6 separate regions of the Homo sapiens genome follow, and all the other regions are linked to region 5. The links are contacts of gene promoters, found by promoter capture Hi-C in blood cells and fetal thymus (Javierre and others, 2016). All regions are on one chromosome and are shown on one strand. Each heading gives the region's core, a stretch centred on a gene start or on the middle of the fragment in contact. The rest is flanking DNA. Distances are from core to core; before and after follow the strand shown. Region 1 overlaps SKAP1 (src kinase associated phosphoprotein 1). Region 2 overlaps SKAP1 (src kinase associated phosphoprotein 1). Region 3 overlaps SKAP1 (src kinase associated phosphoprotein 1). Region 4 overlaps SKAP1 (src kinase associated phosphoprotein 1). Region 5 holds the start of HOXB9 (homeobox B9). Region 6 overlaps SKAP1 (src kinase associated phosphoprotein 1).

Region 1 (4,221 bases), core at 418-2,917, 390 kb after region 5:
TTTTTCTCAAGACACAGTCTTGCTCTGTCACCCAGGCTGGAGTACAATGGCACAATCTCAGCCCATTGCAACCTCTGCCTCCTGGGTTCAAGCAATTCTTCTGCCTCAGCCTCCCTAGTAGTTGGGATTACAGGTGCGAGCCACTATGCCCGGCTAATTTTTTGTATGTTTTTAGTACAGATGGGGTTTCACCATGTTGGCCAGGCTGGTCTCGAACTCCTGACCTCGTGATCCACCCACCTCGACCTCCCAAAGTGCTGGGATTACAGGTGTAAGCCACCACACTTGGCCAGTAATCTTATTTTACCCATATTTTATACAATTAGTACAGTAAAATTTTATAGTATTATATTTTATCTGTTTAAATTACAGACTATTCTTGTTTTTACTAGAAGTCAGAATTTGTCCCCTTCTTTCTAGTTCCATCACCAAACCTTTGCCAAACAGGGACAACACAGTTCAACAAAACCACACATTCTAGCACTGCCATCCTTTCTCTTTTCTATTGATGTAAAGAATCATCAATATTTCCTTTTAACACCCTCCTTCACCTTAATCTCAACTGAACATTGAAACCCATTGCAAAGTAGCCCCATTTAATTTTCCATAGCTGAAATTGAGTTTTTTCAAATGTGAGATCCAGAACTGGTGACCTCCCCAGATTGTGGTACCCATTAGCCACAACTGCCACAGAGTTCCTATTGGAGATGGAGCATTTCTTTTGTAAAATTTACTCAGGAGACACTTGCCAAACCAAGCTCCTCTAGTATCTTGCTGTTTTCCATGATCAGGATTGGCAGAAATGCATCTCTCGAAAACAGTCCAGGCACAGTGACTTATATAAGAACACAATCATGGTTATGAATATCCACTAGACATTCTGATTCTGGATAATCTGTGAACCTAAGAAAAGGAAGATCAAGCAGTGAATTTATTTGGAAATAATAGAACTGTTGGTTGGGTTTTGTAGGCTGAAGTTCTGTAGTTAATCATTATTCTGCGAAATCCTGAATGATGTTGTTTGTAGCTTTCCTATGCAGGCAGTGTCCCCATGGGAGTCCTACTAACGGTCTTTTGTCAGGCACTATCAGCAGTATTGAGCCAGCCTGAGCACCCTATTATTAATCCTTTTCTCCTAGTGACATGACAGCAATCGATGTCTGAACAAGCTATTGAAACTGTAGCAATCAAGTGGACTCTGGTTAATCCAATGGGATACTTACTCAGAGCCTACGAGAAGGGCAGGGAATTTTTTCTAACTCCATACTGTTCCCATATCCATATACTTTATGCTGCCAATATTTGGGTAAAGGCTGACATTTACCCAGGCCTGTAAAATACACAATGGAACCTTTACCGTTGACTCAAATACATTTGTATCACCTTTACAGCCATCTGTTACTTCTGTAAATAAACTTGTGATCATTATATAAATATTTGTGCCCATGTAAATGTAAAGCAAGAGCATTGAAATCTTTACATAAAAAGGTACCCACCTGGTGGTATCTTTGCACTCATAGAAATCAATCAGCAGTTACAAAGAATAGTATATAGAACACGAGACTATCAGATTTCCTGTCCCTTATTCCAGATGGAAAGAAGTCTAAAATGGTGGTGCCCAACCTGGCATACAGATTCCTGAGTCCCATTTGCACAGATTATGATTCAGTTAATCTGAGGCACGCCCAGGAACTTGCATTTTTAGGTTCGAAGGTGACTGGCCTACAATAGCAGTTTTCAGGCTATATTCCTAAGTGCTTTAGTGTTTCCTAAGAGGCACCTATGTGGTTTGTAGGGTGAAGAAAAGGGGGTTAAGAAGGAAGAATACCAGGAAGGAGAGATCTGTTCTTAGCTTTGCTAGCAAGTGCCTCACTTTTGGCAACTCACCTCAGCTTTTGACTTCAGTTTCTCAGATTATAAAATATGTATCAGTAACGTGTGCCTTTGTTTTTTTTACATAGGTATTTTGAGAAGAATGAATAGGAGAGTATAGAGAAAATAGGAATTATAGAAGATAAAGCCAACTTATCCATCAGTGTAAGAATCTATTAACACTAGGTTATATAGTCCCTGCTTAACCCTGCAGTGAGGTGAGGCTTCCTACCTCATGACCACCATTATTCCCAAAGGCTGGGGAGGTGGAGGCTCTCTAAGGTCTAAAGGGTCTTTCTCAGGCTGAACTTAACCCCCACTGTCATTAGCTTCAGCTTGTGGGTCCTAGTACTCCCACTACTCCCTATTTCTATGGGACAACCCTTCAAATATTTCAGGACAGTTAGAAGGTCTCAGCGTAAAATTCCTTGCTTTCTTTTTTTTTTATTAACTCATTTTCTGAAACCCTCTCAACTACATAGAGTATTTAGTACCCTTCTACTTGTGTAGTACCCTTCCTCAAACTATGCCAGTTGTTAAGTTAATTTGCTTTTGCTTTCTGCAAAAGCAGCCTTCTTTCTTCAGGCTGTGTAAGCATGTATGCTTTTACAACAGCTATTGCAATAATCCCTACACATTATTAGCTGTTTTTTGAAATAATGGTATAATTACTGGTCTGAGAGACCCTTAGTGTGAAGATCTCTCTCAAACATGGAAGCATAATAGAATAATTTAAGGGAGTCTGTTAAAAATGTAAATTTCCAATAACCTGACCCAGAAATTCATTCTGATATCTGGTGAAACAGGGGCAAGGCTCTAGAGGTATCTTTAAGGTGCCCAGGTGATGCAAATGCAGCTGATTTGTAAACCACTGTGTACACTAACTTGAAAATACTATGGTTTAAACAGACTGGGACAGAGAGATGTAAACACTGCCTGCATCTATCCTTTAACCTATCCCTGAATTAAATGCCCACAGCCTTCTTTCTTCATCATCTGTATCACATCTACCTCCTAAACTGTGCAGATTACATGAGATAATATATGTAATACATTTCATTATCATAAAGGACTATACAATATCTTTTTTATGCAACTGTGCTTTTATGCAAAAATCAGGTTAATATGTCATTATGCCTCTATTCTATTCCATTTCATTACATGTCTGTCTAATAAAGATTTAGGATCTTACTTATAATTATATATGCTTACTCACTCATAAAACAATTTTTTTTGAGACAGGGTCTCACTCTGTCACCCAAGCTGCAGTGCAGTGGCATGATCGTGGCTCACCGTAGCCTCTATCTCCCCAGGCTCAGGGGATCCTCCCACCTCAGCCTCCCAAGTAGATGAGACTACAGGCACACACCACCACACCTGGCTAATTTTTTGTATTTTTTGTAAAGACAGGGTTTTGCCATGTTGCCCAGGCTGGTCTCACACTCCTGGCCTCAAGCGATCTGCCCACCTCAGCCTCCTAAAGTGCTAGGATTACAAGTGTGAGCCACTGCAACCGGCACATAAAACAAGATGATTATCTTCTTTGTGTATATGTTAGTGTAAATCACTTTTTGCCAGGCATGATCTTCCCTCTCCCCCATCAAGCAGTTCTGGAAGAATCTGCAGAAAGACACCTTTGAGTTTAACACAAAACAAAGCTTTGTTGATGCTTTAACCTAGTATGGACAAGAAAAGACATCCTGGAAGGCTGTCATGTGGACAGCAAGTTCTAAGAAACAGGTTACACAAGAACATTGCCTGGTTTATTATTTTTAATTTAATGAACATTGTTCCTGTAAAAATTGCAGGGCAGATATTACAGGAAATCAACATCTTTTTTTAGCCCTAGAGCAGACAGCCCAGTAATGGCCATGGCTGGACAAGTATGCCTGACCTGCATTCTAACCAAAGGGGCATTGTTGAAAAGTGAGAAGGATTTTTCAGTTCAAGGTCTGAGCCTGGATGCTCTGCCCTTCTAACAGAGACTGTCAGCATGGAGGCGAATTTTGAAACTAAGTTTTGTGATGTGTGCACTTTCCACTAAAAACTGGACCAAGCCCAAGACTCATTTCTCAGGGTTTCCTATCCAAGCACAAGATGAGGAATGGTCTTTGGTCATTACCACTTGGTTTGGAATAGCCCAGAGGTGAAAGAGTTGCTATTAGATTTCATTAATCTGAAGAACACTGTTTAGGTTAAAATGTCTTCTTGCTGTTATAATTGGAGAGGGTGACATTGGTGTTTAGCACCAGCCAAAATATATAAACTCAAGATTAAGGAGAAAAAAGTTATGAGTTGAACCTGTGAGTTTAAAAAAACTGCAAATATTTTATTTATTTTTTATGTATA
Region 2 (3,618 bases), core at 723-3,222, 340 kb after region 5:
TAAGGTAAAATGAATGACACCTCATTTGTCTTCTTGTTTGTTTCTATGTTTTCTCCTTTCATCAAGCATTTGAGGTAGCCTCCCCAACCTGTTTAAGACTTTTCCCCAAGCTGAGTCACTGCTATCAGAAATTACTGTTGCAATCATTTATTGAGAGCCCTTTATGTGCTAAGCACTGTACTGGCTGTTTTCCATATAATATCTCATTTTAATTCTCACAGTAATTCTGTAAAGTAGATATTACCATGCCCATTTCATCAATGTGGACACTTGAGAATCAGAGAGGTTAAGTAACTTTCCTAAAGCCATACTGCTCAGCTGTGGCAAATCAGGAATGTTCATATACATCTGACTCCAAAAGTAAATGTCTGAGAAAACAAGGAACAGATTAAGGAGCAATATTCAGAATTCCTGTCTCCTTTTCTCACCACAGAATTGCACATAATGGCTGTTATGATTTCTGGTGGAGAAAAAAATGAATGATAAAAATGCAGCATTTGTTTAGGGTCAGAGGATCAAAAGGGCTCATAGGAAATATTGACATAGGGGCTCCCCTTTTTTTTTTTTTTTTCAGATGGAGTCTTGCTCTGTCACCCAAGCTGGAGTGCAGTGGCACGATCTTGGCTCACTGCAAACTCCGCCTCCCAGACTCAAGCGATTTTCCTGCCTCAGCCTCCTGAGTAGTTGAGATTACACGCACACGCCATCATGCCCGGCTAATTTTTGTATTTTTAGTAGAGACAGGTTTTCACCATGTTGGTCAGGCTGGTCTCCAACTCCTGACCTCGTGATCCACCCGCCTTGGCCTCCCAAAGTGCTGGGACTACAGGCATGAGCCACAGTGCCCGGCCAGGGCTCCCTTTTTCTCTCTAGACTCAGTATGACCAGAAAGAGGAGGTGGTATCGTATAAAGGAGAGGAGGTATAAGTAAGCTTTCTGCTCCTTTACTAGAATCACCACTCCCATCTTATTCCCTTATTCAAATATGTTGCTAAATGCCTCATTTCTCATACTTAATAACATCTTGGCCATAAAGCAAATACCATAAAAGAACATTTAGAGATGGCTGTGAGGATTTGGAGAGCTTAGAGAGTAAATGCACCAAAATCATAAAACATGGCCCTCTCTGTGCGTCAGAAGAGGACTCAGGCCTACTATAAGAGAAATCTCCATATATTAATAATTGCTCTATAGGCAAATCCATACCTCAATGTCTTTCAATATGGCTTTCATAAATCTCAGCAACTAAGAATTTCAGTGTGCTGAAAACTACCAATCTGGTAACCTGATCAGAGTTTAATGACTACTATAGGAGAATTGTGTTGAATTGTGAAGAAAATCCAAATGCTTTCAGTCTTACCATGTATGTCTCCACCAATTCTTTAGCAGCCCCTGAAAGGCAGGTCCTCCCAGACTTGGCTAAAGTCTGGTTTCCTTTAAGATTTCCAACCTTCTACAACTGCTAAAATATATGCTAGTTGACATAGATATGTTCTCTAGTTAAGGTGAGAGCAAAATTGTCAAAGATGTATAGATCCCTGCGTTACTTATAAAAAAGGGATATATTGAATATAAGTGTATTTTTTCTCACAACATGCCAACTGTGCTTTTTGGAAGCTGTTTTTGAACATGATGACAGAGTATGTCTGAACATAGAAGTCACCTGTGTACTCATATCCAAATCTCCTTCATAGATCATCACCTTTGAAATTGGCAGAACCCACCATAGGCCCATGTGCCTCTGAGTACATTGAAAAGAATGACATTTTGTAAATTACCTATGCTAAAATGGCAAACAGTTTTTCCTCCATGTTCTAATAACTACTCATGAGTGGTCTGTTTCAGTGTTTCAAACCCACCATAAAGTTTTTATTTGATATAGAATGTCTTAAGAGAAATTGGCCTCCAGAAATTATTTCTTATCTTTATTGGTTCTATTCGTGACCTACTTTTTAAAAACATTATTATAAAGGGTAGCCCCATTAAAATCAGAACAACTACAAATGTTTGCCATAAATGGAGTTGAATTGGCCAGTCAACAAGTTGGCAGCTCTTACTAGGAGAAGGGACTGTGTGGGATTTAGCAGGAAGGAGGGGGAAGCAAGTGGAGAGATAAAGGAAATCTTAGCAATATGAAAGGGAGGGAGCAGCTCCTTTACCTGTGAGCTGAGTTTAGGCTGGGCAAACAATTTCAAAGTTACATCCCAGGCATTCTAAGAGGAGTAGACAGAGAATGGCATTGAAATAAACTGAGTAATCATGGTGTTCCAAGAATGACAGGTGAGAGTCTGGGACATTAATCAGGGAGGGAAGTACAGTCTGATCTCAGAAGAGGAGGCTGGCTAGAGTCCCACTTCTGCCCTGGGGAACTAGCTAGGTACAAGATGCCCAGACAGAAGGGCCAGTTAGGCAGACTGAGAGCACATTGTCCTCCTTATTCCTAAGTTATTTCCCACCCAGAGGGAAACAGAATGGAGCAGCAGCTTGTATCCAGCCGTCGCTCACTTCAGAAGAGGAATCTATCCACCACCACTAAGATCTTCAAGAGTTAGTGAGATCCTGCCCCCTGCCTGCTGCTAGATTATAGTTAGAGTGAAATATAGCCAGTCAGCCAAGTCAACAGACATATGATCTCTGCTGTATGGTTGATTGGACCAAGGCTGATGCATCCATAGATGGCAGAGGTTATTATAAGCACCTAGAGTCAGAGTCTGAAAGGGTTAAATAACTTGCCCCAGGTCACAGACCAAGAGGAAGTTGAACTGTGATTTGAACCCATGCAGTCTGATTCCAGAGTTTATCCTGGCTTTAAGCACTATGCTATGCTGCCTTAATGATATATGCATCTAAATTTTATTATTATTTTATTTTTCTTATTACATCTGAATTTTAGATACAACTTTAAACATGTCTTCCCTTAGGAAACTTTCTCCAGCTCTGTATCATAGTCTACTCTAATCACTTTTCTCTGCATTCTCTCATCAGTTATGCTGGGTGGCAGGGGGAAGCTTGTTTGTCTTGACTCACAGCAGGAGTCTCTTGATATTACCTATATTTTACAAATGCCCAACACGTCTAAGCCACAACTTCATTGGTGTTTCTGTATTCAGGTAATTATTAAATTATATTCTGTCTCTGAAATAAGAGTTTGACTCTCCCAAACATCTTCTTAACTAGAAAATGCACTAGTTTGTGACTATTTTAGAGATCTCAAAGTACTTGCTTTTTTTAGCCAAACTGAGAAAATAATTACATGGAATTACATAATTGCTAAGAGTGGATGGCATTTTGTAGTTATTGTTCCCTCAGATGGGTGGGTTTGCATTTATCAGAGGAGCACAAAAATGTGCAATTTTCCTTACCAAAAAAAAAGGGCAGTTTCTTTTTTTCTTTTCTTTCTTTTTTTTTTGAGACCAGATCTTGCTCTGTCACTGAGGCAGCAGCAGTGCAGCGAGACGACCTTGGCTCACTGCAACCTTGACCTCCTAGGCTCAAGCAATCCTCTCACCTCAGCCTACTAAGTAGCTGAGACTACAGGCGTACACCACAATGCTTGGCTGACTTTTTACTTTTTCGTAGAGCTGAGGTCCCACTATGTTGCCCAGGCTGGTCTTGAAC
Region 3 (4,088 bases), core at 1,504-4,003, 450 kb after region 5:
TGATGGTGTTTAAACAGGAAGTGTTACCTCCTTGAAGAACTGGGGATGGTTAGGTCCCTGCCCTCTCGAACCAGACCTGAGACAGTCCAGTTGGTTATTTCCAGCTATGTGTATGGAGCAGGTGAAACTGAAAATCCTGAGCAGATGGAATGTGGAGTGCACCTTCTGCTCAGGCCCATTTTGACTACGAGGCCAGGTGCTGGGTGGAGGGACAGCCTACAGTAACATTGGATTGTGCTAACATTGCATACCCATCAAGAGTCAAATGATGTGGGCCTCTAACATTTGTTTCCTTATAATAGGTAAATGTGCTTTGTGGAGGATATTTAACATTGACGGTTCTGCTAATCCTCCCTTTTGGGATGGGGCCCACACAAGCCCACACTGTCTCTATAGGGAAAGCCATGTAAGTGAGACCTTCCTTCCAGAGTATAATTTAGATGGGCTTCCTAATAGGGAGAAAAGTGTATGTAATACATACCAAGTCAATAAAAAATGTTTTTTTGTAATCAAAATAACGCATGGGTCATCACATTAAACTCACTCCATCACATTAATCATGGGATAATTAGCATTTGCTATGTGGCTAGCACTCTTCTCCCCTTGAGGGAAAACCAGAGCCCTCAAGGTTTTCAGCCAGGCCACAAAAACGTTAGTCCTGGAAAATATGGTTTCAAGGTTGGTATCTGGTGGAATTTCTGAACATCCGTGTTGAGCATATGTGGGCCCTTGATTTTTTTAGGATCTCATTTGCAGTAGATTAAACTGCAGGGAACTACCACAAAGAAATGCTAAAGCAATATGTAGAAAATGGAGGCTTTTCTGAGCCCTCTCTCACCACCACCACCACCACCACCGAAGTTATTTTACAGGCCAGCATAGGCCCAGCTCCATGATTCAAGATTCCATAAAAGGACAACTTTTGTCAGGTTTCGCTTTGTCTGAGGTCTCAAGGCTGGGATCCAGCAAGACGTCTGAGACCATTGAAGTGCTGTAACTGGGGCCTTGTAGCAGCTGCAATGGCAACGGAATCTGGCTGTGTTCTCTAGAGAGATTTCAGAAGAGCAAATGGAAAGAGAGATGACGAGCCATCTTTGGGAATTTCTGTGCACATTCCAATGCTGCCCACACTGCCCCAGGGTGTTATTATAAACCTAGAAACCAGATTGCTTTAAAATAAAGCATATAACTGAGTTTTTAAAATTTTGAGTCAAATGGAAACAAGCATTCTGTGGAATTATTTTTCCCCCTGTACAGTTGTTCAGACCCACAGGAAGGGGGAACAGTGAAGATAAGAAGTCTAAGGAAATGAAACAAAATAGAGACCAAAAATACAAAGTTTATGAAGAAAGAGCATCAGGGAAGAGTCAACACCAACATCAGGCCTCCTCTGAACTTCTGGCCTTTTCTCTGTCTTACTCCCATGCCCACTGAGCCCCAGCCACACAGTGCTGCTTGGCCAGCACCAAAACTAGAATCATGTTGTTTCTTCTACCTAGACCATCCCCCTGATCTCAGCCTGTGAAATCATACACATTCTGCTCAAATATGTCTCCTCAGTGACACCTTCCCAGATACTCAACTGGAATTAAGCTTTGTTTTAGCCCTCACCAGTGATTTGTATTCAGGTCTTTCTCCCCAGTTAGTAGATGCTTAGGTATTATTTGTGAAGTTAAATTCAGTGCATTCCAAGTGTTGCAGTTAGCACAAATTGAGTTTAATATCTTATACATCAAGCCCATATCACTGAAATAGGATGCGAATATTTTGAGCTAACAGTTGAGATAACCAAATACACAACAGAGAATTAAATGTGTTATTAGCATCTTGCTTGTATTTTGCATGTTGTCTGATGAGGTGCTATACATCCGTGGATTTATAACATATCTGTGCATGCGGGGGAGCAGTTTATTTCTACTTTTCTGCATGTCCCCTTTGCACCTTGAGTCTATCTGTATTTCTGTTGCATCTGTCACCACAGCACCTTGACATCTGGTTGCACATTTACACAGTTGGCATTTTTTGAAGCTTTTATCACTTTCTTTATTTGGGGAAGTAACTGATTTCCCCTCTTTCTGATTTAGTCATTTTTTTCTAATGTTATTCTTTCTGATATCAGTGTAGCCAATGTCAGAGGAGTGTCAGAGCAGCACTTCAGAAAATAGCCAGGTGTCATGAGAAGCTGCTGGCTCCTCTCTGTCCCTCTGAGGTGGATTCAGTGTCCTATTCCTCTCAGCCTCTCATTAGTGTCCCTGACATTGTGCCAAGAATGTTTATTGAAATCGACTCTCCAGATACTGATGCTCATTTGTGATGCCCCATGGTTCTCTTACATGTTCACACAGTTAACAGAATCTTCTTCAACTGTTTTCCCAATTGAGATGAGATATTTGGGGATCAAGTAGAGCATTTAATGTGATAAGTGGACAGTAATCTTTAGAGGTTAATTTGTTTAAAACCTATGTAAGGTTGGGGTCCCATATGCCCTGTTAGGAGCAAGGACCATTATAATCCATTACTGTTTAAAGTTGAGCTAGCACATAAATTTTAATTCACTCTTAAATGAAGATGTATTTCAGTAGACATAATGCTGAAATGCCTAATAATATTCTTATAAAGAAATTCAACAAGCTCTTTAGCCTAAAAAATATTTTTCAAAATAGTCTCTTAAAATTAAAGTGTCACATTAAAGATTAATAAAAATGAGAACTTTAGCTATTTAACCCACCCCTTCTTGTGAGCAACAAGACTTTTTTTCTGTTGCCATATAATAGTTGTCTTTGACTCTGGGGTTGCAAAGACACCTGTTCAGTTTCATGGAAAGATCTGAGATAACTTGTATGCCTATTTGTATTGTGCCCTCTGAACCTAGGGAGGTGTCTAGGGGTGTAATTTTCACAACCAGCTGTGAATGGTGTTTTCCTTCACTATGTGACAGTGCCCCCTACCCAGTCTTCCAAAGACCCCAGAGGCATAGCGCCAAGCCCATCAATGGGAAGGCTTCTTGATTTGAGCCTACTTTCAGCCACCTGGGAAGGACGGTGTTAGATAAAACAGATGTGGGGATTGGAGCTTCCCCGTTTACATCCATCATCGTAGAGCTTAGTAATGGCGGTGAATGATATAAAAGCTCTATAGCCAATGTTTTTTTTTTCTTTCTAGTTGATTCCAAAAGTGCAGTGGAAATCAAGAGTAACTGGTCTGGAACTGAACTGCATAGAACACATTTCTATTGTTCCATCTTTGTATTATGACTAGATTAAGTGCTGTTGCCCAAAAGAATAAAGGAATTAAGTTTTAGTTTTCATTTTTATCATTGCAAATACATTTACATTCTCCTATTTTACAAATGCAAAGAGCAGGCAAGCCACTTTCAATAATTTATTTTAAAATCAATGCTAATGAGGTTATGTCTCGTCAGTGGCCGAGTTTTACAATAAAGTCTGATTTATTTAGAAAAGATCTTTGGTGAAGCTTCCCATCTAATGGTGGTGGGAAGGAGGTGGAGTAGCAGCACTGTGACCCTCCAACTTCGGATCCAATTTGTAATTCACAGTGGAGATCTGACCCAATTTACATTGATTAGAATTGGGAGGAAGAGACAGCTGCGCACAGACAGCAGAGGTAGAATAAACCTCTGCAAAAGTGCCTAAGCACAGCAAATTATTGGTCTTTGTGATGGAGTTGTTTGATATCAACAAAAGAGCTGCTCTCTGTCCAAATTATTGGGTATCTCTAAAACTGAGGTTGTACCAACTTTTCCTCTAATGTTTCCAATCCTAAAATTAGTCCCATGTCAAAAAAGAAATGCATCATAGCTGAGAAAGGAAGGAAGTGGACGAGTAACGAGAAGACAATGTGCAAAGAATGTTTAATGTGGTTTATTTCAGCATGATCTGTTTCCTATATTTGATTTCACTCCTCCATTAGCTTAGGTTGTTTTATTCCTCGTGGTAGGGTTGAGGGAGCACTACAGGTGTCAAGTAGAACATTCTCTGCTGCTAGATCATACATGGCTATAAGAACTGTTGAGTCAAAGTGCTCCTTTTCCCATACTATATTGTAGGGCATATATATATATATTTTAT
Region 4 (4,140 bases), core at 1,099-3,598, 380 kb after region 5:
GGCGTGGTGGCTGACGCCTATAATCCCAGCACTTTGGGAAGCTGAGACGGGCAGATCACAAGGTCAGGAGTTTGAGACCAGCCTAGCCAATGTGGTGAAACCCCATCTCTACTAAAAATACAAAAATTAGCTGGGCGCGGTGGTGCACGCCTGTAATCCCAGCTACTCAGGGAGGCTGAGACAGGAGAATTGCTTGAACCCAGGAGGCAGAGGTTGCAGTGAACTGAGATCATGCCACTGCGCTCCAGCCTGGGCGACAGAGTGAAACTCCATCTCAAAAAAAAAAAAAAAAAAAAAAAAAAACTGTCTATGGCAGCAAAATATATGTATTTTTTCATTTACTGCAATTTCATAATATGTTTTATATTAAAATGACTCCAAACTGTTATAATCTCACAGCTTATAACATAGATCTCATAGATTATAACAGTTTGGAGTCATTTTAATATAAAACATTATGAAATTGCAGTAAATGAGATGTAAATATTAGGGAAAGAAATTGAGGAATGAGTATGTGAGAAAAGGCAGGAGATATTTTAATGGCAGCATGAGTGAGGGTAAGAGACTGGATAGGATGCTTCAGGCAGAAAGCAACAGCTCCAACCAGCAAGCTTTAGAAAATGCTCCTAAACTCCTCTCTTACCCTTCTGAGCTGTAACAGATCTGTGTCATTTTCAAGAGATGGCTCCCTATCAGTGCTGTTAGGTCTACATCTTTCTCACTCACTTATAAGGCCTCTGTGCCCTCCCAGATAGGCAATATGCATTAAAAGCTATCAGTGAGTCATAATTTTTAGTAAAATTCCAATTGTGATTTTAAATTTTACTCAAATTCTACTTTTAAAATATAACCTTAGGAAAGAATTGTGAAGTGGTTTTTGCGGGGGGCTTCCGGGTTTTGTTTTTTTTTTAAGACAAGGTCTTGCTCTGCCTGGAGTGCCGAGGCATGATCATGGTTCACAGCAGCCTCGACTTCCGGGGTTCAGATGATTCTCCTGTCGCAGCCTCCCGAGTAGCTAGGACTACAGGCACACGCCACCAGGCCCAGCTAATTTTTTGTATTTTTGGTAGAGACAGGGTTTCATCATGTTGCCCAGGCTGGTCTCAAACTCCTAGGCTCAAGCCATCTGCCCACCTCAGCTCCCAAAGTGCTGAAATTACAGGTGTGAGGCACTGTGCCCAGCCAAGAATTGTAAAGTTTTAATATTCTTCTTTTGTCCATGTATTTTCTATAAGGTACTATTTTCAATACTATTATAATGTTAGTTTAGCCGTAGCTAAGGTTAAGCTGGTATTTCTATTCTAAATCACCTTTTTAGGTTTTTGAAACTTGACCTTTTAAATTCTAATGGGACTAAAGCTGAGTAAGCTAGACCAACTGAGTGTGATTAAACATACATAAAGCCATTAAAAACTTGCTTTGGAGGCCACCTGAATAGTCTAATAGAACTATTTTGCATTGACAAGTTATTGTCTATTAGAGGATCTCAAAGTGTTTATATTATTTAATTAAATGGGTTTTTTTTGTTTTTTTGTTTTGTTTTTAGTAGAGACGGGGTTTCACCGTGTTAGCCAGGATGGTCTCGATCTCCTGACCTCGTGATCCGCCCGCCTCGGCCTCCCAAAGTGCTGGGATTACTGGCTTGAGCCACCGCGCCGGCCTAATTAAATGTTCTTATCTAAACTTGGGGTATGTTAAGACATAACATGATTTTTTTTTAAAGGCCCTCTATTAAACCCTGTTCATTGATAGAAATTAAACTTATCTTGAACTCAGATACTACCACCACTCCCAGGGAGCCCTTCCTGATCACACAATCTAAGGCAGTTTCTCCCTTTGTTGATTGATATCACATGTTGACTGCATAATTTTTTTTTGCATTTGTCATTTGCTGTCTTATATTACTATGGTATTGCTGTAATCACATAGGCTCCTTGGCGGCAAGGATTATGTCTTAAATTTCTTATCCCCTACAATTTGTTTGTTTGTTTGTTTCTGTTTTCTTTTTTGAGACGGAGTCTTGCCCTGTCTTCCAGGCTGGAGTGCAGCGGCGCAATCTCTGCCCACTGCAACATCCACCTCCTGGGTTCGCGCGATTCTTCTGCCTCAGCCTCATGAGTAGCTGGGATTACAGGCACATGCCACTATGCCCGGCTATTTTTTGTATTTTTAGTAGAAATTGAGTTTCACCATGTTGGCCAGGCTGGTCTCGAACTGCTGATCACAGATGATCCAACCGCCTCGGCTTCCCAAAGTCCTAGGATTACAAGCATGAGCCACCTGTGCCCATCCTCCCCTATAGTTTTTCATACAGTACCGTATACAAAGAAAATAATAATTACTTGGTGAAGAATTGGCAAAAGTAAAAACTAAGAAGACTACCTGTTCCTGCGCAGGCCATCCTTGGAAGAATAAATGGGTAAAAATATAGCTAATCAGTTCTACACTATGAGGTCTGTTCATTGGCCTCTTTTATCATGACCTATTTGCCTTAATAGAAATAGTGTTGTTGATCATTCATTCATCGATTCAGAAATTTCTTGTTGAGTGCCTACAATGAAAGAATAAGATAGATGAGTTTTACATTTAAGGAGAGTAAACTTGAGGAGTTTTACATTCTACTGGGGAGACCGACAATAAAGAATTAAACCAATAAATAAAATAATTACATATTGTGATTAGTGTGATAAAGAAAATAAGCAGGTCATTGTAATAGAGATATGCCTTTCTTCTGCTTTCCTCTTTCCAGGAAATTCATGAAGAGAGATTCCAGGAAAGAAGTAGAACAGTGTTGCAAAATTAAAGTGTAGCTGTTATGCATCGAGTATGCATCTATAGTATGCGGTTTGCACTTGACACCTCCCTGCTGAGTTTACTGGGGGAAAAAGGATGAAAAAATATATATATAAACACTTTGAAAAATTAAAGGTGGTGTATGTATTGTTACTATGACTTACTATCTCCAACTGGAAAAATACACGTGAAATGATATTTAGTCAAACTTTGGTCAGCAACTAAAACTTTTGTGAGGTAGGAAAAGACGGTTACCTTTAAATCATTGAGTAAAGAAAATGAATGATAGAGGAAAAGAAATCAGAAGTATTGGATAGAAGGAAACAAATTGTATTGGGCTTAGCTTGCAAATTGCAGCCCCATAAAAGAGACAGCATAAGATATGCTGCATAGTATTGGCAGCTTCCTCTGTAACTACTACTTCTTTAGCCTCCCTGAATCCCTTTTTCTAGCTATTTGCCTTCGTTATCATGTCCATGCTTTCATGGTGCTTAGTTAATAGATGTCTAGTTGTGCTGTATACAGGTCTTCCCAATGGAATGTGACTAATAGGAAGGCAGGGTTTGGTCTCCTACTTCTTTGGTAAATTGTGTGCATACTTGGAAGTGAAATGCACACAGTGAGTACACAGAGACTTTTGTAAAGTAAGTGAATTTGTGTATATGTATTAGGTATAGTGACACTTTTCTGCAGATGTGGAGGTATTTATTTATTGTGCACTAGAATTGATGGTTCAATTCAGATAGTTGGGTTAGAGAGAACTTTTGAGACTGCGAGAGGTATGAGTCAGGGGGATGGGAAAGGTTGTTTAATTTCCTTCTTTCTAACATTCATTCATACATTAATTCAACAAATATTTACTAAATGCCTTCTGGTTAAGACTGTTCTAAGCATTCCAGGGATAGACAGAGGTGTCAAAGGCACATGAGAGATGACGTGGGAGATAAGTTATGCACCCAAGTAACTGAAATTCAAGAGGCTGTGTGATAAGTACTGTAAGTACATAGCAGCTCCAAGGAGATCAGTCAGTTTAGATTAGAGTGATGAAAAAGACCAGCAGGATTGGGTGATTAACTCTCAGAGATCTCTGCACTGTTAGGAGACCTGAAATGTGGTCCAAGCTGTAGCTTGATGTCTTTGGGCAGATCACTTAATCTCTGCATGCCTTAGTAAAAGGAGAAATTAGATCATTTAGTCTCTAAAGCTCTTCCAGCTCTAGAACTCCATGAAGAACCGTATTTGAATCAGGCTTTGAAGGATGACTATAAAAATAAAAAATAAAATAAAGCTTTATGGTTTGAATGAGAGAACCTCTGCTATGCTATGATTTTAACAGGTAGAGATAGG
Region 5 (3,770 bases), core at 22-2,521:
TTTGGAAATCTCCAGAGCAGGAGCCTCAGGTGAGAGGAGTAGTACAGGAGGGCTGAAAACTCAGCCCAGGCTCCTTCCTCTTTGGATGGAAGGGGAGATAACTTGGGACCCCTTCCCTTGCTGACTGGGGATCCTTTCCCAGGCCTCTGCTCTGGTCACACCTCAGGAAAGTGGCCTTAACCCTTTCTCCTATTTAGCTCCCTCATCAGGGCAAATTTAGGGGCCTGGGTGGTTATTCAGTGGAGAAAAGGAGAAATGGCTTCCCTCACCCCCACCCCCCACGTCACCACCACCATCTTAAATCCATCCTTCTGGCCAGAGTCAGAGAAAGGCCCAATAAATGTAAAGGCGCTCTGGTTCCTTGTATTAAACTCTTTCCTAGGCTCACGTTTCCGGGACCTGATGGATCCCTTTAACCTCAAGTAGTTTCTAATTTCAGGACAGATAGTGGATTCTTGGACACTCAGTCGTTTTATTCACCTCTCTCCTCCTCCCTCAGCTACTGAGGGGCCCAGGGAAGCTCGCAGTCATGTAAATCTCTACAAAGAGTGCAAGGAGAGCCCCCTCCAAAGCGGACAACGTCCTAAAATCCCCAACTTTTCCCCTCATCATTTTACTTCATCTCCTGTGGATTGCTGCTGCTGTTGTTGTTTAATAAACATCTTTTGTCAAGGGGAAAGAGAAGAGGAAATGAGGGCCTGCGGGGTGGAGGTGTGTGTGGGGGGACAGGAGCACCTCCTCTTCCAGTATCCTCTCGGGCCTCTATGGCTTCTCCCCGGGCTGGGGCTCTCTCCCTCCCTCCGCCCTTGCTCTCCCTCCCTCCCCGACCCGCCTGGGGAGAGGGCTCTACAGCCTGCGTCCCTCCCAAGGCAGCCCGCCGCTTCCCTCCGCCTCTCCTCCGCCCCCGCCGCCCCATGTTGAGAACTGCCCCCCTTCCTGCAGCGGGAGGGGGGGACCGGGCGGCCGGTAGCTGGGGCTGAGGTTACGTGGCCGCCGGAGCCCTGACGTGATAGCACATTGCATCAGCATAAAACAATCCATCCTCGATATGGAGTGCGGTGCGGACGGATGACAGCGAGAGCGCAGCCCCCTCGCCCGATTGATTTATGTCGGAGCTGACGCTTTATCAGGCAGTCGGAAAAACTTTGACCAATCATTTTGCAAGGAGAGCTGAGACGGGCTGCTCCACTGTACTTTGTTGGCTGAGAAGTTGAGCAGGGGGTGGGGGTGGGAGGGTGGGGGGCTGGGGGGGTCGCGTCCGAAAGCCCTCACACCGGTCCGGGTGCCACCTCTCCCTGCTTGGGCGCCGCCGCGCGAGCGCTTCCCTTCCCCCTGCAAGCGCCCGGATAATGTCTGAGAATGTCCATTTCTGGGACGCTTAGCAGCTATTATGTCGACTCGATCATAAGTCACGAGAGTGAGGACGCGCCTCCAGCCAAGTTTCCTTCTGGCCAGTACGCGAGCTCGCGGCAGCCGGGCCACGCGGAGCACCTGGAGTTCCCCTCGTGCAGCTTCCAGCCCAAAGCGCCGGTGTTCGGCGCCTCCTGGGCGCCGCTGAGCCCGCACGCGTCCGGGAGCCTGCCGTCCGTCTACCACCCTTACATCCAGCCCCAGGGCGTCCCGCCGGCCGAGAGCAGGTACCTCCGCACCTGGCTGGAGCCGGCGCCGCGCGGCGAAGCGGCCCCGGGGCAGGGCCAGGCGGCGGTGAAGGCGGAGCCGCTGCTGGGCGCGCCTGGGGAGCTGCTCAAACAGGGCACGCCCGAGTACAGTTTGGAAACTTCGGCGGGCAGGGAGGCCGTGCTGTCTAATCAAAGACCCGGCTACGGGGACAATAAAATTTGCGAAGGAAGCGAGGACAAAGAGAGGCCGGATCAAAGTAAGTTATAAAAAGTGAGGAAATACCCAGGCCGAAGGCCAGGAGGGGGGCGGGGAGGGGAAAGGCAATAAACTGCGGACAATGTGAAGGGAAACTGCGGCGGTGGCCGGAGAGCGGGCCGGGAGGAGGAGGGGAGAGGAAGGAAAGACGGAGGGAAGGGGAAAGCTGCGTGCTCTAGAAGGGGAGACTGAGGCCGCCAGAGGAGCGCTGCCCCCACTTCTCCAAGTCCTGCGGGGAACAGGGGCTCGGGGATCGACTTGCAGCTCTCTCGGCCCTCTTTCCCCCTCTCTCCCGGAGGCCCCAGCTGAAAGCCCGGCCAGAGACCGGCGACGGCCGGGAGAGGAGCTGGCGGGGGCCGGGGCCAGCGGCCAGCGAGGCCGAGAGCCGGCGAGGGCAAGGGCCGGAGCGCACTGGGCTGCCCGGGGCCGTGCGGCTGGCAGAGCTCCCCGCGCCACGCGCAGACCGTAAAAGCCGGCCAAGGGGAAGGGGGAGGGAGCTCATTAGGATTTTATTTGCGATGCAACAGCTTGGCGGAGGATTGTTCCTAGCAGATCTCGCGCTGTAGCCGCGCAGAGTCCGCAACCGGCGACAGGAGGGGCGGGGGAAGCCCAGGACGCGGTGACTGAGCCCCCTCCCCGGATGCGCCGGCCCCTCCCCGGGAGCCTTCCCTCCGGTGGCCCCTCTCCTCCTCGGCGTCCTCGCAGGGGCTACCGCTTCCTTTTCTGCGGTCCCCCGCTGCTCTCTGCGGGGCTCCCGAGCCCCAGCCCGGGCTGTCCGCCTCTTGGGGAGTCGGGGAATCGCTTCCGAATATCGGGGCATCTCGAAGGGACCCCGGGGAGAGGAGGGGTGGGGGGAAGAGAGAGTTGCAGAGAGGCGGAGAACTTTACCCTTTGTGGGTAGTTTCCCGTCACCTCCCACTCCTCAAAAGCACCCCGGCCAGAACGCCAAGTCTGGCTGATTTTCAGGAGGTGCTACTAGATGAGAAGAGAGGGTTCTCCTATTATTTATTTTTAAGGTTGAGAAGGGCTCATCGGTGAGGGAACTCAGCCTCAAACAATGACTCGCAGGCTGGTGGATCAGGTCCTCGTTTCTTACTCTTTTTGGGAAGTAGGGATGTTTTAGTCTCTCCTTGCCCTGCTAGATTTCCCATTGACGGAGTGGCCCCAGGGCCCTTTAGAGCATCCTTGCCTGCTGGAGAGTAAAGAGCAGCCCCATTCCTTGCAGGGTCCTGTCACCTCCAACCTGCCAGGTGGAATCCTAAGAGCTGGCATTTAGGGAACACATTCTTCCCCAACCCTCCCCGCACACTCCCAAACAGATCCCCCACCCTAAACCCCCAAATTCTGCCTGAAAAGCCCATTATGGCAAGGCAGCCATTTGGCTAGGATCAATTATTAACAGTTTTTTCCCTCTTTCATATTTAATGCGGCTGCGGGTCCCATCCCAGGCAATCACATTAAGGAAATAGCGCTGCAAATTGGTAAGACACGGTACTTAGTGTAGGATGAACCAAATTTTTTATATAAAAAAATCCAGTGTTTTTCACTTGGGGAGAAGGAAGCTAGTAGCTGGTGGCTGTTATTTTTAATTGGCTTAGCTTTATTTGGCAACTTTTTTGAGTTCCAGAGTAGGGGGAGAGAAGGTAAGAAGAGAAGCCTGTATATATTTTTGTTTCCTCTCTTCCACTCGGTTACCCTCTTCTCCCCTCCAGCCCCCACATAGGATCAATTAAGGCTAGGTGTGCTGTGAAGGGCTTCCTTTTACCTCCACATCACCCCTGGCTCCCCACCTTGGGACTGGAGCAATTTTATTCCCTAATTTCCCTGCACTTGCGTTAACCAAACTGTGAGCTGAGCAGGAGCTGAAAAGGAGAGAGACTATTGCAACCATAAGT
Region 6 (3,950 bases), core at 26-2,525, 430 kb after region 5:
TCTGTTTTGTGCTGATATAATGTAATACACCTTTAGACTTAGCCAAGAGGGCCATTTATTCTCAATAAATCAAAATCATTTTTATTTTTTCATGACGGTGGTGATATCTTTTCTCAGGTAATGAATAAAAAGCTTCTTTTTTTAATTGTATACTTAAATATAAATTGTTTGCCTTAAAATAGCAACTTATACAATTGTTTGCAACTTCTTCCTATTTTTATAACCGTCCTTTAAAGCATATTTTACATACTTTCTATTATGCATTAAGTAGTTCTCTGCAGATCTGTTCGTTTACCAGTAGGTGTGGATCCAGGCATACAAGATTCCTGCCTCATCACCCCATGGCATGGCTAACACTGTTCATCCTCAGGATCACTAGTTCTTGATCAGTAGGACCCTGCGCTGACACTGAAAGAGGAGGTACCTTGCATGCCACTGTGGATTCCCACCTTGGTTATTTGGATTTGTCAGATAGATCATGGAGCTAATGAGATTGAGCTCAGAGCCAACTACATTGAGAACAACTCTGTTATTGAACTCACCACACAGTACCTTGTACACAGAAGACAGTTAGTAGACTAGAGACTGATCTGACCTCATTTCCTAATTTTTTTTCCGTAGACATTCTAAACTGAGCCTATAATCCCATTTTTTCCCACTGCCCATAAGGGGAACCAGGCAAGAGAATTCCTCAATACAGATTCTGTCTAATGAATAAGAAAGCAACATAGACCGGGTGCGGTGGCTCATGCCTGTAATCCCAGCACTTTGGGAGGCCGAGGCGGCTGGATCCCCTGGGGTCAGGAGTTCAAGACCAGCCTGACCAACATGGAGAAACCCCGTCTCTACTAAAAATACAAAAAACTATTCAGGCATGGTGGTGCATGCCTGTAATCCCAGCTACTTGGGAAGCTGGAGCAGGAGAATCGCTTGAACCCGGGAGGTGGAGGTTGCAGTGAGCTGAGATCACACCATTACACTCCAGCCTGGGCGACAAGAGTGAGACTCTGTCTCAAAAAAAAGAAAGAAAGAAAGCAACATAACACATCTTACTGACTATACACAAAAACACACCATATAAAAAGCTGTTTCCAGCTCTATTCCTTTTCAGAATCTTGTTAGTGAATGACCAAGAGAAAAAATTCAGCAGCTCCTTTGGTACCCAATTTTAGCAAACTGAGTTTGACTCTTGGGGAGAGAAGGTGGTGATGGTGCTATCCCTTGTCTCCTAGAATTAGTGACTTAGAGTTACATCTCTGCTGTATTATGTCTTTGTTTCCTTAGTGGTGGCATTCTTGGGTTTCAGTTGGTGGGGAGAGAAAAACCTCATGCTGATAATGTACTGAAAGTAAATGAAATTAAATAAGCGAAGCAGTGCTCATCACTACTTCCTCCCCCCTGGGTAATTCAATTCAAGCTCTCTCTCTGATGGCAACTCACAGGGGCTGTCTCTGTCACCCCGCTGGGGCCTGGAGTCTTAACATCTAAATAAAAGTTTCACTCAGGCATTTTTTATGCTCCTGCCAGCAGGATCAGTGAGCTGGTGTGGGCACATTAATGTAATATTCATACTCACAGACTCTCCCTGCACACGAGGCAATGTCTTCCCATTTTCATAATTATAGATGTTCCATAAAATGGCATTTAAATTTGCATTAAAAAAAGGAGGTTTGAATTCTAATAGAACGTTTAACATGTCTTTTATGATTCAGACTCTTGGCATCTTTGACAAGGAGCTGTGTCTCTAAGTTTAACAAGACCTTTAAAAAGAAAAGAAAAAAAAAACCTGTGGAAAGAAGAGATGGAAACTCCCAGCTTATGGGATCGTGTTTTCCTCATCTCCCTATGTCTTTCATTTAATTTTTAGGCCTCCAGGAGCAATTTTTTTTTTTAAGAGGCAGAGTCTCGCTCTGTCCCCAGGCTGTTGTGAAGTGGTTCAATCACAGCTCACTGCAGCCTTGAACTCCTGGACTCAAGAGATCCTCCTACCTCAGCCTCCAAGTAGCTGGGACTACAGGTTTGTGCCACCACACCTGGCCTCCCCAGGAGCAATTTTTTGACAGCACTTCAGAGAGCCTTCTCTTCTGTAACTGGTCCTCACCCCACTCAATGCCTCACCCTCAGTAGAATCTGCTACTGTTTCCTTGGAGGGTGTTTTCAGAGGGGTAGGAGAAATGAAAGAACCCTAGAAAAATGAACTTTCCTTTGCTGCTGTTCATCTCATGCGTGCACCCTGAGATTGATTAAAAGGATTTATGGCAACCACATAGTTTGCTAACTGTGAAACACACAAATAAAAGTAGTCCATGAACAAGGAGGTTAACAATAAGGACCAATTGGATAAAAAATCAGGCACATAGACACACTTAAAAACAGAAAAAGAGGCTCTTCTGATCTACCTTTTTATAACTAAGCTTGAAACAGCTTTAAAGCAAAATGTAATTTTGATTGCATTTTAAATTGTCGTAGATGTTATTTTAAAACAAAAAGTAGGAAAAGCACTGAGCAAAGTGCCAGCTCATAGCCACCATTGAATAAATGTTATTGTAGGAAATGTTCAAAAAACAATTGTTTGAAAAAAAGTTATTTCAACCATAACTCTCAAGATACTCTATAGGTGGCCCAGTTGATTCATATGTAGTTATGCCTTACTTTGTTTTGTATTTGGTTTGCTTCATAAATTATTTAAGACAATCCAAAAGAGATTTGAGTTCTGGGACTAAAAAGAATAAATGTTAAAATACCGCTAGCCCAATTACCTTCATTTTGCCTAATTAAGAAATGTGGAGTGTGTCCTTAAAAGAGGCTTTTTTTTTCATTCTTCTTTCATTTTATTTTTTGAGAAGTAAATTCCTTCTTTGTCTCCATCCTTTGTCCCTCCCTTCTGTGAAGTAAGTATAAACCCCAGTGGAGGAAGATGGATTAGGATCTTGACTTCTCAATAAATTTGTACCTAACAAGGCTAATTGAAAGCCAAGAATGTTAGCAGCATACAATTAAAGGCTGATGTAAGTTTCAGGGTATTATTTGTGAAGCCTTTTACAGTTCTTAGATTCTTTCGCATACTTTTTTTTGTTTGTTTTGTTTTGAGACGAAGTCTCATCCTGTCGCCCATGCTGGAGTGAAATGGCACGATCTCGGCTCACTGCAACCTCCGCCTCCCGCATTCAAGAGATTCTTGTGCCTCATCCTCCCGAGTAGCTGGGATTACAGGTGTGTGCCACCATGCCCGGCTAATTTTTTGTATCTTTAGTAGAGATGAGGTTTCACCATGTTGGCCAGGCTGGTCTCAAACTCCTGACCTCGTGATTTGCCTGCCTCAGCCCCACAAAGTGCTGGGATTACAGGCATGAGCCACTGGGCCCAGCCTCTTTCTCAGACTTTTAAGAAATCAGGATTTGACAGTTATTGCTAAGTTCAGCTTGCATAGCCCTTCTTCTATGAACTTAAAAAAATTTATGTTCACAGAGATGGCTATCTGTTTGTTAAGAGAAAAAAAATTGAGTGTGTATTTATTGCTCCCTCTTAGGTGACTACGTTTATGGTGGAATCTATTACTCATTAAAGCTGTCTGTGCTGGTAGCTATTCATTTGACTTTTGATTATCTCAGTGAGGTTTATCCAACTTGGAACTTATATCCACAAAAAAATTCTTAAGTTTGGCTGGGCGCAGTGGCTCACGCCTGTAATCCCAGCACTTTGGGAGGCCAACGTGGACGGATCACGAGGTCAGGAGATCGAGACCATCCTGGCTAACACGGTGAAACCCCATATCTACTAAAAATACAACAAAAAAAAATTAGCCGGGCGTGGTGGTGGTCGCCTGTAGTCTCACCTACTTGGGAGGCTGAGGCAGGAGAATGGCATGAGCCCGGGAGATGGAGCTTGCAGTGAGCCAAGATCGCGCCACTGCACTCCAGCCTGGGCAACAGAGACAGACTGTCTCAAAA

Evidence for each region. Contacts are between HindIII fragments. The CHiCAGO score rates a contact against its expected background, and 5 or more counts as called.
Region 1: a contact is called between a fragment that was not itself captured here and the fragment with the promoter of HOXB9 in region 5, in 2 of 17 cell types (megakaryocytes and M2 macrophages). The highest score is 5.8, in megakaryocytes.
Region 2: a fragment that was not itself captured here is called in contact with the fragment with the promoter of HOXB9 in region 5 in 9 of 17 cell types (M2 macrophages, erythroblasts, megakaryocytes and 6 more); the score reaches 9.0 in M2 macrophages.
Region 3: a fragment that was not itself captured here is called in contact with the fragment with the promoter of HOXB9 in region 5 in 9 of 17 cell types (endothelial precursors, megakaryocytes, M2 macrophages and 6 more); the score reaches 12.0 in endothelial precursors.
Region 4: a fragment that was not itself captured here is called in contact with the fragment with the promoter of HOXB9 in region 5 in 3 of 17 cell types (megakaryocytes, erythroblasts and endothelial precursors); the score reaches 7.1 in megakaryocytes.
Region 6: a contact is called between a fragment that was not itself captured here and the fragment with the promoter of HOXB9 in region 5, in 13 of 17 cell types (endothelial precursors, M1 macrophages, M2 macrophages and 10 more). The highest score is 17.2, in endothelial precursors.

What each region holds. Positions count from the first base shown.
Region 1 is chr17:48,229,643-48,233,863 of GRCh38, reverse strand. The region is part of intron 4 of SKAP1 (src kinase associated phosphoprotein 1); the gene reads left to right. Among named protein-coding and RNA genes, the nearest start is that of SKAP1-AS2, 63 kb to the left of the region's middle. The HindIII fragment of the contact is 3,731 bases long and covers 1-3,532 here.
Region 2 is chr17:48,282,568-48,286,185 of GRCh38, reverse strand. The region is part of intron 4 of SKAP1 (src kinase associated phosphoprotein 1); the gene reads left to right. Among named protein-coding and RNA genes, the nearest start is that of SKAP1-AS2, 10 kb to the left of the region's middle. The HindIII fragment of the contact is 2,076 bases long and covers 935-3,010 here.
Region 3 is chr17:48,173,217-48,177,304 of GRCh38, reverse strand. All of the region lies in intron 9 of SKAP1 (src kinase associated phosphoprotein 1), which reads left to right. Among named protein-coding and RNA genes, the nearest start is that of MIR1203, 19 kb to the right of the region's middle. The HindIII fragment of the contact is 1,446 bases long and covers 2,031-3,476 here.
Region 4 is chr17:48,246,436-48,250,575 of GRCh38, reverse strand. The region is part of intron 4 of SKAP1 (src kinase associated phosphoprotein 1); the gene reads left to right. Among named protein-coding and RNA genes, the nearest start is that of SKAP1-AS2, 46 kb to the left of the region's middle. The HindIII fragment of the contact is 3,470 bases long and covers 614-4,083 here.
Region 5 is chr17:48,623,859-48,627,628 of GRCh38, reverse strand. HOXB9 (homeobox B9) reads left to right here and starts at 1,271. Exons shown (of 2, transcript NM_024017.5): 1 at 1,271-1,876. The coding sequence starts at 1,360. RefSeq lists a silencer at 175-330 and an enhancer at 1,741-2,418. The HindIII fragment of the contact is 5,521 bases long and covers 1-3,770 here.
Region 6 is chr17:48,190,123-48,194,072 of GRCh38, reverse strand. The region is part of intron 4 of SKAP1 (src kinase associated phosphoprotein 1); the gene reads left to right. Among named protein-coding and RNA genes, the nearest start is that of MIR1203, 36 kb to the right of the region's middle. RefSeq lists an enhancer at 1,287-1,904. The HindIII fragment of the contact is 2,282 bases long and covers 135-2,416 here.